Regions from separate parts of the Homo sapiens genome. Here region 1 is linked to region 2. The links are contacts of gene promoters, found by promoter capture Hi-C in blood cells and fetal thymus (Javierre and others, 2016). All regions are on one chromosome and are shown on one strand. The core of a region is centred on a gene start or on the middle of the fragment in contact, and the rest is flanking DNA. Distances in the headings are between cores, read along the strand shown. Region 1 overlaps DRD3 (dopamine receptor D3). Region 2 holds the start of ZBTB20-AS1 (ZBTB20 antisense RNA 1).

What was found. The method cuts DNA at HindIII sites, captures the fragments that hold promoters and counts their contacts. A CHiCAGO score of 5 or more calls a contact.
Region 1: a contact is called between a fragment that was not itself captured here and the fragment with the promoter of ZBTB20-AS1 in region 2, in 1 of 17 cell types (total CD8 T cells). The highest score is 5.1, in total CD8 T cells.

The regions. Positions count from the first base shown.
Region 1 is chr3:114,159,802-114,164,339 of GRCh38, reverse strand. It overlaps DRD3 (dopamine receptor D3), which reads left to right. Exons shown (of 7, transcript NM_000796.6): 3 at 4,473-4,538. Among named protein-coding and RNA genes, the nearest start is that of DRD3, 17 kb to the left of the region's middle. The HindIII fragment of the contact is 990 bases long and covers 2,641-3,630 here.
Region 2 is chr3:114,350,561-114,355,283 of GRCh38, reverse strand. It overlaps ZBTB20-AS1 (ZBTB20 antisense RNA 1), which reads right to left and starts at 3,473. Exons shown (of 9, transcript NR_038993.1): 1 at 3,328-3,473. It overlaps ZBTB20 (zinc finger and BTB domain containing 20), which reads left to right. Exons shown (of 12, transcript NM_001348800.3): 11 at 3,406-4,723. The HindIII fragment of the contact is 4,056 bases long and covers 274-4,329 here.

The DNA.
Region 1 (4,538 bases), core at 1,886-4,385, 190 kb after region 2:
GTATAATTCTAAAGTGAGTTATTCATTAGAATGCAGGAGAAAGAATCATGTCTCTAAAAAGCCTCAAGTCAATTTGATTTTTTTCACTTTTTTTTTTTTTTTTTTTTTTTTTTTTTTTTGAGACTGAGGCTCGCTCTATCACCCAGGCTGGAGTGCAGTGGTGAGATTTCGGCTCACTGTAACCTCCGCCTCCCGGGTTCAAGCAATTCTCGTGCCTCAGCTTCCCAAGTAGGTAGGATAACAGGCGCCCACCACCACACCCAGCTAATTTTTGTATTTTTAGTAGAGACAGGGTTTCACCACGTTGGCCAGGCTGGTCTCGAACTCCTGACCTCAAGTTATCCACCTGCCTCCCAAAGTGCTGGGATTACAGGTGGGAGCCACCACACCAGGCCTTTTTTCACTTTTATCTGTTTTAATTTCAAAAATCATTTTGCCTTTCATAATCTTCCAACACTTTGTACCTATCTCACCTTTGGTGCCTATCACATTGCCTCATAGCTGTTTTTTAAGTACTTATCTCCCGGGCCCTCAGTTCACCCATACCCATTCACACATCACTTCTGGTAATAGGCACACATTGTATTCTGAGATCCTGGGAACAAAAACAGGTTTGTTTCAATACACCCGCCCAAGCAAAGTATCAGACATATCTTGGGCACTCATTAGACCATGGCTATAGGGGTAATGGATGGACACACACCAACTCTTCTACCTCCTATGATATTAGAATAGAGTTAAATTGTACACATCTCTGAAGAGGCAAGCCACTATACTTTGAGAGGCAGGAAGAGTAATGGTAATATAAAGGGGTCAAAATCCTAGCTCCTTTTACAAGCTATGTGTCCTTAGGCAAATTACTCAACCCTTCCAGGTCTCCATTTGGCAAATTACTCAACCCTTCCAGGTCTCCATTTCTTTACCTATAAGTTAAAAATCACATTTACCTCTTCAGGTTGTGATGAGAAAATGTGTGAGAATTACCAGCATATTCTTGGCACCTAGATGCACTTTATTGATCCCTTACTATTTGTTGCTTGATATGGAGGATGTCAATAGAAAAAAAAAAATTCATTACAAGTCCCACCAATTAGAGACTCATTTTAATGAGTAAGCTCCAGGGAAGGCTAAGTGATGGCACCTTAGTGGGAATTATTTTAATCAGCTAATCAGATTGTTTTCTTCTTGACTCTTAGCTGAAATCAAGGAGAGAATGAGAATTTTCATGGCAGAATCAGGAGACAAGAAAAGAGGATAGCCAGAATGGGATGACAGGCCATTGGGGGCCTGGAAGCCAGAGAACAGCTTGAGGGCTTTGTCCTTTGGGGGCTAAGCAGGAGGGGTATTAAATAAAACTGTCTGTGTACTTTCACCAACCCCAAAGGCAGCACTTACCACTGTCTCTTGCACTATTCTTTGAACCCTGGGATAGAGGCAATCAGGAGAGTGTCTCTTTCCCTAGAAAGGAGATGATATGGTCTGTCACACAAAAATCCCTGAGGAACACCTGGTTTTCTTCTTTCCCCTAGTATCTACCCACTTCCATCCCTTTTCCAACAACTATCCCTCCTCACCTAACACTTCCCTATAGCAGGGTGTGTAACAACCTACATTCCAATGCTCTGTCTCCCTGTACTAGCCCTGTGACCTTGGACAAAGTGCTTATTCTTTCTAAGCTTTTAGATTCTTCCTCTGCAATGAAGATAATAATCCTCTGTCATAGAATTATAATCGGCAATAGAGGCCACGTATGTAAAGTGCTTTGCAGAACACCAGGCACTTAGTAAGCGTTCAATAAATGTTAGCTATTATTATGACAGATTATGTCAGAGGTCATTTATTATTTCAGAATATATTTTCATGGTTGGGCCCTGCTCTGGGAGCTGGGGGTGCAGCAGCAAACAAGTAAATCTTCCTGCTCCTGTTGGTGTTGGTTAAGTAACAATAACTCCATCCCCTATCAAGTAAATGTATAACTTGTCTTCAAAAAGCTTTAAGAACACATACAATAAAAACAAATTCAGTTTTCAAAGTCTGAAGTTTCAAAGTTATAGAAATTCCTGGAATGGGTCATGTGGGTTGGTAACACATGTACAGTGAATTCTCAATAAATGTTAATTCCTATTAACAATATTAGGATATCATGATGATCTCTAGTATTTTATTGATGAATGCCTTACTTCTCCAGTTATCTTGTAAATTCTTTAAGGATAGGCCCTGTAGTACATTTTGTAAAACCTCTCAACACACATGACATACACTGCTGCAAACCAAGTACTAAGAGCTTCACAAGTATTTGCTCTACAAGTGCATGAATGAATGAATATCCAGCAAACACTGAAGTTTGCTGTTATCCTAACTATCCTTTCTCACCTACTCTAGCCCAAAACACAAACAAACATGTGCTCACAATTATGCCAAAAAGTGTTTTTTTACCCAATTTAAAACATTAACTGCAGAGTAGATATAATATTGAAATAAAATTTAGTATACAAAATCAGCTTTTGCAAGACGCTTTTACAGTATGCAACTGTCCTATGTAATGAAGAAAACCTTCTTTTATTCTCTTGGTTCCCCTAAATCATTGTGTTATTATGACTCTTTAGATCGGAATTCTTATGTCTCAATCTTTTAAAAGCTTTTTATTCTCAGAATTCCTATAAATTCATATTCAGCCTTTATTTATATAGAGCCAATTGGTCAAACTAAAAGAGAGACAGTAAATCCATAACTGGATTTGACTTCTTCACTAGTTTTAATTTTCATTGTTGCTTTTAAACAAAAAATCATTGGTCAGGGTTTCTCAAAACAGTCTGGAGATGACCAAGCACAGGAATAAAATGAGATGCAAAAAAAGAAATAAATCCAATGGGAAGAAGTTATCAGGGACAGGGAAGGAAAGACGGCCTTTTAGGACCTTATTTTATTGGGATAAAACAGAAATGAACACTAAAGTGACCTGGTCATATAAGAAGATCCTTGGATGAGAAAATCCAGATGAAGGAATAGCACTATCTTTATGCACAGTCATTTGGTCAGTATCTGTTTTCTTATTGGGAAGCTACTTCAGAGGCTACTGTACCATTTTTCACTCTTTCTTCCTCTTAAATGGCCATTGGGCCTGTTCAGGAGCGGTATTGTGAATACTCAGCTACAGCCAGAGGCACAAAGCCTGGCAGGTTTCTCCCCGAGAACTAGGGTCCCCAAGAATGACAGCCCACCCCCCCAGGAAAGAAGCTGGTAACTGCACAAAGCCTCGCGGTCCATGAGTGGCCTTTGGTGGACATTTTAAAAGTGTCAATCTCCCTGACACATCTTCCTGATTCAATTAGGGTATGTAAAGGTTTCAAAAATAAATAGAAATATACTAGAGTATAAATGATATTATATAAATTCCTGACTGTAAGCATTACTCAGAGGATGTTATGGAGCTTGAAATACATGTATAGATAGATGCATGAGGTTGAAACCATCCTCATGAATTCTGAGTAGTGGAGAGAATCCAGCCCTTTTCCCCACTTTTGGTTTTTGGGATGTGGGTGGGGAGGGAGAGTGTTGAAGGCAGTCACATTGGCACAGACTTATTTTACATAGATTCCCATAAATGTTGTTTCAGAATGTTTCCAAGCTTTACAAGCTGAAGCCAGATAGATTTTTACTTTGGAGGTAAATTTTATGAAAAATGTGTTCTTAGCTTATTTCTTGAGTGCATGATGAGCTCTCTACTGGGTGAAGGACTTCAGAGAGACAGTTTTGGCACAATGTACACATCGGGTAGTCACCGAAGTCCTTTTACCACCAGCTGAGCATCTATGAGGAAGTTATCACTTAACCACAAGGAGCATTAGTTGCCTCCTGAGTTTGAATTTCAACAGTGATTCTCAAACCTTGGTATGTATAGGAGTGTTTATTTAAAAATGAAGATTTTAGCCCAGCTTGGTGGCGCATGCCTGTATTCCCAACTACTTGGGAGGCTGAGGCAGGAGAATCACTTGAACTGGGGAGGTGGAGGTTGTGGTGAGCCGAGATCGCACCATTGCACTCCAACCTGGGCAACAAGAGCAAAACTCCATCTCAAAAAATAAAATAAATTTAAAAAAAATAAAAAAGAAGATTTACAGACCAAAGAGCCAAAGATTCTGACTCAGTAGGTATAGGAAGGATTCAGAAATCTACATCTTTAATAAACACCCCACTGTGGACCACACTTTGAGAATCACTGGACTAACTGACTTGGAAGATCACTTCCAGCATTAGCATTCTAACATTCTGTGAACTTGTCCTTTCTTTAGGCAACCAGTTTTGGATAGCCTGGCACTCCCTTGATGTCCATCTGCCCTGTGGGAACAACGGTACACAGGGAGTAGGAGTGCCAACATCTACACTAGGCAGCAAAGCAAAGAAAATAGGGCCAACTGGGTTGTCGTTCCTTCACTGGGGTAAACACTAACATCCTTGTCTCTGATACCCAGGTGACAGGTGGAGTCTGGAATTTCAGCCGCATTTGCTGTGATGTTTTTGTCACCCTGGATGTCATG
Region 2 (4,723 bases), core at 2,224-4,723:
CGCAAGAGTCTTAACTCAGACTATTCAGTAGATAACTTGATTGTTTAGATGAACAAAATTTGCAATCCAATCTGGTCAAACAGTTTGGATTTTTCTCATGGAATTGTGTGTGTGTGTGTGATTATCTGTGTTCATTTCTTATCTCTAAAGCAACCTTCATCATTACTTTCAGTGTCTTTCTTTTTTCTCTGCTGAGAATTAAGATAACTCTCGATCTTTGGGCACTTCAAGTTCCATTCCTCAGTGATCCACTGTTATGCAGTGGAAAAAGCTTTAAGAGGCATAGTTTCTAATCCCAACACTGCCATGTGCTACTGTGCAAAACTTTGGGCAAGTCATTTAGACATTTTGAGAGCCTCGACTTTCTCTTATATGAAATAGCAATAATAAGACTTGTCCTGAAGGGCTGGGCACAGTGGCTCATGCCTGTAATCCCAGCACTTTGGGAGGCCGAGGCGGGCAGATCACCTGAGGTCAGGAGTTTGAGACCAGCCTGGCCAACATGGTGAAAACTCATCTACTAAAAATACAAAAATTAGCCAGGTGTGGTGGTGCATGCCTGTAATCCCAGCTACTCGAGAGGCTGAGGCACAAGAATCGCTTAAACCCAGGAGTTGAAGGTTGCAGTGAGCTGAGATTGTGCCACTGCACTCCAGCCTGGGCAACAGAGCAAGACTCTGTCAAAAAAAAAAAAAACAAACAAAACAAAACAAAAAAAAACCTGTTCAGAACACACATAGGATTGTTGTAAGGAATAAATGAGATGTTACATGTAAAAAAGTTGTATACACAGTCAAACACTACATGGATACTAATTATTGTGATAATTGTGATAGGGCTACTTCCCAGAATTATCTGAAAGAAAACTGTCATATATGACATCTCTAGTGTTATTGTTGTAACTAATGTTATGAGCAAATGTATGTTTAAAGAGTGTTTTCACTTGTGTAGAAAAAAATGTTGTAATAAATCCATCCTACACAGAGATGATCACAGACACAACCAGTTTTACTGCTTATTGTTTTACTTAAATGAAAGAGACCTTGGTTATAGTAAAATTGTATATAGAAAATCCTAAACCATAGTGCCAGTTAGTTGTCTTACTTCTTGCACTGTGACATCTAAAAAAATAAGTCCTTTAAGTTACACAACTGAGGCTATGTCAAAGCATCACAGCCTAAAAACATAAAAGCCACACTAAATCACGGATAGGTATAGAAGTAGCTGGAGGTAGTAGTGGACAAAGCCTTTCACACAGCTTTACAACAGAGCCGTGGATCCCTAAGGGCCAGACCTCAGTAAAGGGCAAACTATGCAATATAATGAAGCAGTTAAGAGGGTGAACTCTAGAGCCAGACTGCCTGGGTTTAAATGCCAGTCTACCAGCAATTGCCTGTGTGTACTTGAGCAAGTTTCTTAGTTTCTCTGGCCTCAGTTTCCTCATCTGTAAAATGGGAATAATATCATCTACTTCCCATGGTTGCTGTAAGATTAAATGAAATCATATACAGAAAGCAGTTAGAACTGTAACCCCTAAAAAATGTTATCTTGTGATTACTATCATGGTATGTATGTATGGCGAACTCAGCAAGAACTTGAAATTTGGTCTGCTGCTGATTGAGCTCCTGAACAGCCCTTCCTGGGTTATTTGTGCCTTCTTTTGGGGCCATATTTTGTGTTCACATGGTTACAGGGGATTTACCTTAATTCTTTAATCTGGCAAAGAGAACTTGTCTTATATAAGTAAAAACGATGGAATCTGTAGCCTAATACAATATTTTAGGCACATAACAGACCTGATAGAGTCAGAACGAGAAAGAATGCTCTTATACAAATTAGTGCAAATTGTATTATTGAACATTTATTAAGTTAAGCTCATACCATGTGAGGGTGATTGAGTGAAGCAAGGTAGAAACGCTCATTGAACTCAGAGTTTCCTGAACAAGTCTTCTATCGCAAGGTAGAGCGGAAAGAGTTTGAGGAGGTAGGCCTTCTTCCTATCTGCAGGCTGTTACCTCTCAGGTGGCTTCTCACAAGACAGAGAGATTTGGGTCCAGGCCAACAATCAGTGCTTGGGCCATTTGGTTTTGAAAGCCCACTTATTTCACTTTCCCAAGCTGATTGTTCAGTTGTAAAGGCAAGAATGGGGAATCTGATTGAAGAATTATTTGGAGGGGGATTCTCTAGAGCCATCTGAGAGATGAGCTAGAAAAATAGAAAAGCCCTAAGATCTACTGCTGTAGCCACCTGTTTTCTTTCTCATTCTGAATCCAAATCTTATCAATAGTATCCCTTGCCATAACAGCCTACGTTATAGGGTGGCGCTGGGTCAGGCTATCCGCAGCCTCCACATAGCTGTTGCCTTCCTCCTGGGAGCTGTTTAATACTTCCCTGTGGCAAGTACATAAAGCACCCTATTACCCAAGGAGATCATATATCCCACTTCTGGCTTACTCCTGCTATCCTGGCCTAATTATTAACAATGCTCTCTTTCACTCTTGAAAGTGCCCTGTTTGCATAATAAATATGATCACCAATGTACTGTAGTCTCCTGGGTCAGAACTGCCATCTCTGACCTTTTTAACATTCCTCCTTCATTAAGCCTCAGAAAATTCAGAAAACCTTCCATATCACATGCAACCACCCTAGAAAGTGCTCAAACAGGTTGTCAGAGATGACAAGAAGAATGAGTAGATACAGAAAGCAGCCATGGAGTGCCCCTTTAGCTAGCAGATTGCTTTCTGTAGCCCATCCATCATCCGGAAAGCATGATCATGACTGTTTGGTAGATATCTTAGTCTGGGTTGAATTTTCCAATAATTTTTGCATACATGGTGTGGGTTTTGATAATATGCCATATGACTTAATAGGAAGGGGGTTTATTTGTTAACTATGAATATGGTCACTGTGTATGAATAAAATAAGGGACTTTGATAAGTTGGGGGAAATGTAAACTTTCCCAAAGAATCTGGGCTTAGGCCTGTCTAAAGTGAAGGCAAAGTAAATAAATACATAAATAAAAATAAAGTGGAGGTTTAGTGTTCCATAAGAACAAGTCTTCCATTTGCCTTTCAGTTCTTTGCTGAAGCTGTAGGAATAGCAGGCAAACAAATCATCTGGTTATTAGGCCACTCTACCTCAGCCGAAGCTCTGGGGAGTTAATATGGATACCCAAAATGGCTGCGGCACTAAAGGCCGGAATTGGAGCAAAATTCAAGGTCCTTTTCCCTCAGGTCATCGTACCTACAGCTTGTATGCCGCAGCCTGTCCATCTCCCCACTTGCGTATGTAAGGGCAGTGCTTCTAGGAGCCATGAGCATTACTCACCTGAAACCTAGGTGTTAGGAATGCAACCAGCTAGATCTGACCCATGCCCTGTTTTGTGTCTGCGTTGACATGCTGCAGGTGACATCAGTTGCAAGGGGATGACCGAGCGCATTCACAGCATCAACCTTCACAACTTCAGCAATTCCGTGCTCGAGACCCTCAACGAGCAGCGCAACCGTGGCCACTTCTGTGACGTAACGGTGCGCATCCACGGGAGCATGCTGCGCGCACACCGCTGCGTGCTGGCAGCCGGCAGCCCCTTCTTCCAGGACAAACTGCTGCTTGGCTACAGCGACATCGAGATCCCGTCGGTGGTGTCAGTGCAGTCAGTGCAAAAGCTCATTGACTTCATGTACAGCGGCGTGCTACGGGTCTCGCAGTCGGAAGCTCTGCAGATCCTCACGGCCGCCAGCATCCTGCAGATCAAAACAGTCATCGACGAGTGCACGCGCATCGTGTCACAGAACGTGGGCGATGTGTTCCCGGGGATCCAGGACTCGGGCCAGGACACGCCGCGGGGCACTCCCGAGTCAGGCACGTCAGGCCAGAGCAGCGACACGGAGTCGGGCTACCTGCAGAGCCACCCACAGCACAGCGTGGACAGGATCTACTCGGCACTCTACGCGTGCTCCATGCAGAATGGCAGCGGCGAGCGCTCTTTTTACAGCGGCGCAGTGGTCAGCCACCACGAGACTGCGCTCGGCCTGCCCCGCGACCACCACATGGAAGACCCCAGCTGGATCACACGCATCCATGAGCGCTCGCAGCAGATGGAGCGCTACCTGTCCACCACCCCCGAGACCACGCACTGCCGCAAGCAGCCCCGGCCTGTGCGCATCCAGACCCTAGTGGGCAACATCCACATCAAGCAGGAGATGGAGGACGATTACGACTACTACGGGCAGCAAAGGGTGCAGATCCTGGAACGCAACGAATCCGAGGAGTGCACGGAAGACACAGACCAGGCCGAGGGCACCGAGAGTGAGCCCAAAGGTGAAAGCTTCGACTCGGGCGTCAGCTCCTCCATAGGCACCGAGCCTGACTCGGTGGAGCAGCAGTTTGGGCCTGGGGCGGCGCGGGACAGCCAGGCTGAACCCACCCAACCCGAGCAGGCTGCAGAAGCCCCCGCTGAGGGTGGTCCGCAGACAAACCAGCTAGAAACAGGTGCTTCCTCTCCGGAGAGAAGCAATGAAGTGGAGATGGACAGCACTGTTATCACTGTCAGCAACAGCTCCGACAAGAGCGTCCTACAACAGCCTTCGGTCAACACGTCCATCGGGCAGCCATTGCCAAGTACCCAGCTCTACTTACGCCAGACAGAAACCCTCACCAGCAACCTGAGGATGCCTCTGACCTTGACCAGCAACACGCAGGTCATTGGCACAGCTGGCAACAC